Linked DNA regions of Homo sapiens: region 1 is linked to region 2. The links are contacts of gene promoters, found by promoter capture Hi-C in human tissues and cell types (Jung and others, 2019). All regions are on one chromosome and are shown on one strand. The core of a region is centred on a gene start or on the middle of the fragment in contact, and the rest is flanking DNA. Distances in the headings are between cores, read along the strand shown.

What was found. Contacts are between HindIII fragments. The study calls those that stand out against the background at their distance.
Region 1: a contact is called between a fragment that was not itself captured here and the fragment with the promoter of ADIRF in region 2, in 2 of the 25 tissues and cell types used here (aorta and heart right ventricle).

What each region holds. Positions count from the first base shown.
Region 1 is chr10:87,145,421-87,148,328 of GRCh38, reverse strand. All of the region lies in intron 2 of SHLD2 (shieldin complex subunit 2), which reads right to left. Among named protein-coding and RNA genes, the nearest start is that of SHLD2, 52 kb to the right of the region's middle. The HindIII fragment of the contact is 4,468 bases long and covers 1-2,908 here.
Region 2 is chr10:86,967,181-86,970,292 of GRCh38, reverse strand. It overlaps ADIRF (adipogenesis regulatory factor), which reads right to left and starts at 1,811. Exons shown (of 3, transcript NM_006829.3): 1 at 1,688-1,811; 2 at 31-93. The coding sequence starts at 1,748. It overlaps ADIRF-AS1 (ADIRF antisense RNA 1), which reads left to right. Exons shown (of 2, transcript NR_170185.1): 1 at 1-1,251. RefSeq lists enhancers at 1-111, 112-865, 2,372-3,112, 3,105-3,112 and a silencer at 707-1,001. The HindIII fragment of the contact is 7,922 bases long and covers 834-3,112 here.

The sequences.
Region 1 (2,908 bases), core at 140-2,639, 180 kb before region 2:
TTTGTACTTAAGACAGATATGTATTGGATTATTCCTTCAATCACTTACGTAACAAACATTCAACATTACGTGCTGGGCATTATGCTAGGCCCTGGGAATTCAAAACAATAATAGAGAGCTTTAAGGAGCTTAATTTCTGAGAGGAAAAACAAACTGACAATTATAAAAAGTGACAGGAGGCCAGGAGCCTTGGCTCACGCCTGTAATCCCAGAACTTCGGGAGGCTGAGGCAAGTGGATCACCTGAGGTCAGGAGTTCAAGACTAGCCTAGGCAACATGGTAAAATCCTGTAAAAATACGAAAATTAGCCAGGTGTGGTGGCACGCACCTGTAATCCCAGCTACTCAGGAGGCTGAGGCATGAGAATCGCTTGAACCCAGGAGGCAGAAGTTACAGTGAGCTGAGATCACACCACTGCACTCCAGTCTGGGTGACTCTGTCTCAAAAAAAAAAAAAAAGTGATAGGAGCTACTACAGGATTAAAAGGAAGGGACAGCAACTCTAGAAGAGAGAAGCCTGGGGCAGTTCAACCAATGTGGAACTGCCCATTATCTGCATTTTTCGTAGGCTCTTAGGACTACAGTTAATCACAAAATTTTGGAACTGAATTTTATTAATGTTCAGAAAAAAAGTCATATAATAAAGTCCCCGAGTCATTCCCCACCCCAAAATAGGGCCCAGGAAAGCTGCCCTAATTGCCTTACCCAAGGGACAGGCCTACTATGGGTAATCTCCAAAATGTTTAAAAGGTGTATACGACATTTACCGCTTCTGTGTCCTCACTTAATATTTTCTCCTAAATGTTCTGCAACCTTTCATTTCCTATCTGTGATAAGACAATAATGAAGTCCAAATTGCCAAATAAGAACTCACAGTGCTTCACCACTGCAGTTGTGAAACTCTCTCCTTAGTTTCTAGAACATTACTCTTTCCTAAATTGTTCTACCTCTCCAATTTCTCTCTCTCTCTCTTCCTCCTTGGGCCACCTCTTTCCATTCCACACACCTCTAGAGAATTTCATCCAATCCCATTCATATAACTACCACATATCCAACTGTGCTTTACATATCTATACTGAGCCAATCTCTCTCCCAAACTTCAGACCTATATTTCTAGCATTACTATATTTGATAGGATCACAGTAGAATCAACATGAAGCAATCCTGAGAATTCAGAGGATCTCTCAGGGCAAGAAATATCTGAGATGAATGTGAGATCCATAAAACACAAGGTTTTTTTGTTTTTTTTTTTTTTTTCTTTTTTTTTTTTTTTGAGACAGAGTCTCGCTTTTGTCACCCAGGCTGGAGTGCAATGGCACGATCTCAGCTCACTGCAACCTCTGCCTCCTGGGTTTAAGCGATTCTCCTGCCTCAGCCTCCCAAGTAGCTGAGATTACAGGCATGCACCACCATGCCCAGCTAATTTTGTATTTTTAGTAGAGATGGGGTTTCTCCATGTAAGTCAGGCTGGTCTCGAACTCCCAACCTCAGCTGATCCGCCTGCTTCGGCCTCCCAAAGTGCTGAGATTAGAGGCATGAGCCACCACGCTGGGCGGCACAAGGTTATTATATATAATTGTTATTTCAGTGTGCCTTCACTTATTTGTCTAAATCAGGGGTGTCTAATCTTTTGGCTTCCCTGGGCCACAATGGAAGAAGGAGAATTGTCTTGGGCCACACATAAAATACAGTTAACACTAATGATAGCTAATGAGCTTAAAAAAAAAAAAATCGCAGGCTGGGCGCGGTGGCTCAAGCTTATAATCCCAGCACTTTGGGAGGCCAAGGTGGGCAGATCACTTGAGGTCAGGAGTTTGAGACCAGCCTGCCCAACATGGTAAAACCCCGTCTCTACTAAAAATACAAAAATTAGCTTGGAGTGATGGCACACACCTGTAATCCCAGCTACACCAGAGGCTGAGGCAGGAGAATCGCTTGAACCCAGGAGGTGGAGGTTGCAGTGAGCCAAGATCGGGCCACTGCACTCCAGCCTGGACAACAGAGCGAGACTCTGTCTCGAAAAAAAATCTCAAAAAGAACTCATAATGTTTTAAGAAAGTTTACAAACTCATGTTGGGTTGCATTTAAAGCCGTCCTGGACCACATGCAGCCCCACAGGCTGTGGGTTGAACAAGCTTCGTCTAAACAAATACCCTTGTAAGTGTGGAACTGTTACCCTACCCTCCTCACCACCCCCAAAAAAAATTTGACTAGAAAGTGGCCCTATTAAATCAAAAAATAGTAAATTTTTAAAAAGTGTTTATACCAAAGGCTACTGCTACTAAATACTCCAATTTATAGGAGTTGTGAGTATGTGAGTAGGAGGATGGAAACTGGCAAGGGCAGGGGGAAACAAAATATGTATGATAGCCAAATTATACAGACAGAAAAGTTATGGACAACTGATTAATTTCAATAATTCTAGGATATGTTTTAGGTGTATTCAGAGGGTTAAAGCTCATTAAGATACCAGATGAAACTTGCAAGTACATCTCCATTACCGCAGTTAATAATTATACAATTTCTCAATCTGCAGAAAGCCGCTTCAGTCGGAAAAACCAATACAACCATAATCCTTTATCTTTAGAGTGGTCAGAGTCTGATGAATGGGTCAAAGATTTCTAAAACAGGATGAACTGTATCAGCAGGTTTTGTCTTTGCAGAACACTGCAACTAAAAAAAATGCTTATTACAAAACATGTATCATTAAAAGAGAGTGCTTTTCCCCTCTTATTACCAGGGAGTGAAAAAACTCCCTGTAGTAATGCCTTTTCATGTCTATTTTACCAAAAACACCAAAAAAAATCATAAAGTTGCTCAATAGCATCAAATGACAAAGAAGCCACATGGGATTGTAATTAAAAGCAAGGGATTTGGAACAAGAGAGATGTGGGTTCAAATTACTACTC
Region 2 (3,112 bases), core at 562-3,061:
GTTGCCCGCCTCCCTCCAGCCCCACCAGACCTTTCTGCCCCGCCTCTGTGGCCTGGTCCACCACTTGCTGAGCTGCCGCTCCGGCCGCTGACACTGGAACAGAGAGATGTGGCTTTTAGCCCCTGTTGAGGCACCACCGACTACAGGTGCCCCACCATTGCCATGCCTCTGTGTCCTCCAGAGTATTCGGTGGTACAGGTCCAAGGGATGGATGCCATGGAGATAAAGTCCCTGGCCCAGGGCCCCCCAGCCCGAGGGGCAGGAGACCTTTCCATGCCTCTGGGATGTTTTTGTTTATTTCTAACTCTGAGCTCCTTCTCTGTGGGGGAGGAGCTTCCCTTTCCATCTCCAGGGCTACTGAGAAAATGTTGGACAGAGGAAGGAAGGCAGGGCAGGGCCAGGCTGCAGCTAGCATCTGGACTGTTGGCTAATGCTGGTGATGGCGCAGAAGACCCTTGCCCCCTTTTACAGCTTCTCCCCTAGAAGCCTGGCCCAGATGCCTGAATTCCCACCTTTCATGCACTTAGCCCTGGGGCTTGCAGTTTTGCCAGGTCCTTACTGCCTCCTCCCTCCTGTGGCCTGCCCGGAGGGGCACACAAGCAAAGCCAGTGCCTCTGTGGACAGGCAGCTTAAGACATTAGGAGACAAATGAAGGAAGGAGGCAAAACTTCCAAGGCCGGACTATCTCCTCTGGACCAGAGTTTCGGCCTGCTGGGAATGGAGTCACCAGCCCCGGGGGGGCTGACAGGTGGCTCCCGCCTACAGAGCTGTAACTCATCCCTGCTGCTGAACAGGAAAGGGCCTGCCTTACCCAGATCCCATCCTCCGGAAAGGGTTAGTCAGGCAAGTGTGCTGAGAGGCCCCTGGGAACCTCGTCTCGATTAACCCATCAGAAAGCAGCCCATCCTTTGCACCCAGCTCTCAGATGGAAAAGTGAAGCCCAGAAGGAAGGGACCTGACACGGAGGCTTCCTTGGTAGCATTTCAGTCTCAAGGGAAGAACTGTGGGCCTCCCCTGGAGCACTGGTGAAGTAAGGGGTTGGTTTGGATATTGTCTCCTGACTGGGATATGGGCAGGACTGACAGGGAGCTGGAGTCCTAACGAAGCCTGGGCTAGGTGCAGGAAGAACCAACCCAGTGGTCTCCTGACATCTCCCACGCCCCCACCGCAGCTGGGTCACCTCCAGAATACGGAGGAGAGAGCTGGAGGTGGAGGAACTAAGGACCTTCTTTGCCAGGTGGGGACTTAAAGGTAAGGCGACGATTACTTTTCGGCGATGGGGGTGGGATGGAAACAAAGCCCTTTGAGGTCTGGGGCAGCCTCTGGTGGCGCGCGCGGGTTTAAGTGGTGGCGGGCCGCGCCCGATCCCTGTCCTGGACCTTCACCCTCTCCTGAGGGCCTGGGCGGGCCGCCCAGCGCCAGCATGGCCTCCTTGGAGGGGCTCCCGCAGTGCCCGCAGCGCAGCTCCGGCTCCTCCGGAGCCTCTGTTCCGCTGCCTCCCTGCGGGCACCATCTGTCTGCTCGCCGGGGTGGGCGTTCTGCCTGCCCCCTGCGTCTCAGTGGAGGACCGAGCCTTCCGAGCCAAGCTGCCGGTCCAGGAACTTGCGGACCGCGCCGACCCGCTGCTTCTGCCTGCGCATCCACGCAGGTGCCCCTGCCTGAGCCCTAGGTCGCGCGCTATCCTCACCGGCTTCCTGGGCGGTCCCCTCCACCTGTTGCTTCAGGTCCTGCAAGCCCTTGCTTGCCATGGCTTCGGGGTATCTGTGGAGTCGTCAAGAGCAGCTGGAGCGACGTTGGATCCTGCCCAGAGTGGCGATGCCAAGCGCCAGCTCCGGTTTTTAAGGCGCCCCAGGGCTGGCCTGCCCCGCGTAGGGGAGAGGGCGCGGGGCGGTTCCCGTCATACAGGCTCCGGGGAGTGGCCGGGCCCTGCTCCAGAGTCCGCAGGGCAGGGAGCACATCCTGGCCTAAGACGGGCCGCGGTGGGAAAGGGGCAGACCGAACCAGGGACCGAAGAGGTGCCAGGACAGGGGTCCAGAGAGGAGCTGGAGGCAGGAGAAGGGCGCACACCACCTCCCAGCTCATCAGCCCCAGCCCTCCCTTTCTGATCCTGGGCGTGAGCGCTGGGTCAGCTCCAGGGCAGGAGCTCAGGGCTGGTGTTGACCTTAATGACAGCAGTGGTCTTTTACTGAGCATTTGTCTTGTGCCAGGTGCTGCCTAACGCTCTGCAGTCTCTTGTATAATCTTTACAACCACCTCCTGAAGTGGGTATTTTTGTTGATAGCATCAGTGTATAGGAGGAAACTGAGGCAGTGAGGTCGGTCTCACCCAAACGCATGTGGCAGGGACTTGGATCCTCGAATCTGCCTAGGTGCCTGTAAACCCTAGGGCTCTGGCATCATCGGAGCCCCCAGCCCCAAACAGCTGCAGGGGCACTGCTGACTGGCTCTCTGCCTGTAGCCAGAGACCCAGTGGATGCAGCCGGAGAGGGCCTGGTAAATCTTTCCCCTGAGAGGGCGAGATACAGGTGTGTGCACTTGCAGACCATGCAACCCCAAGGGGGAGAGGGCAGTGTGCCTGTGCAGCCCAGGCAAGGAGATTGCCGTCTGTCACCGAAGCCTTAGGAAGTTGGGCAGGAAGCATGGCTCAGGGAGGGCAGGAATAAGCTTGGGCCTCTCAGGTCACCTTTCCTGAGATGGGGCAGGCAAGGCGCTAGAGAGTATGACTTGTGGCTGTTAGGAGGGGACTTAGGGACCTGGGCCTGAGTGGAGAAGATCATCCTTGGGTGCAGCAAAACAGCTTGCAAGATACATTCCCCTGGCACACAAGGGGTGTAGGTCAGGCCCCACCCAGCTGGGTATACTCCCACTCCAGAGTAGGCCTTCAGGACCTGGAGGCCAGTGCACACCCACCCTGCCTTTCTGGGTCTCTCTACCGCTTCCTGTCCGGGGCTGTTTCTTGCACCTCTGCTGGTGTCTCCCCTATTCTGGAGCGCTGGGAAGCCCCTGCCACACAGGCTTGGTCTGCTGGCACATACCCTGCTTCTAGTGCTGCGGGGTCAGCCCCTAGAGGGAGTTGTTTGGAAGTGCACCTGTACACACACACACACACACAC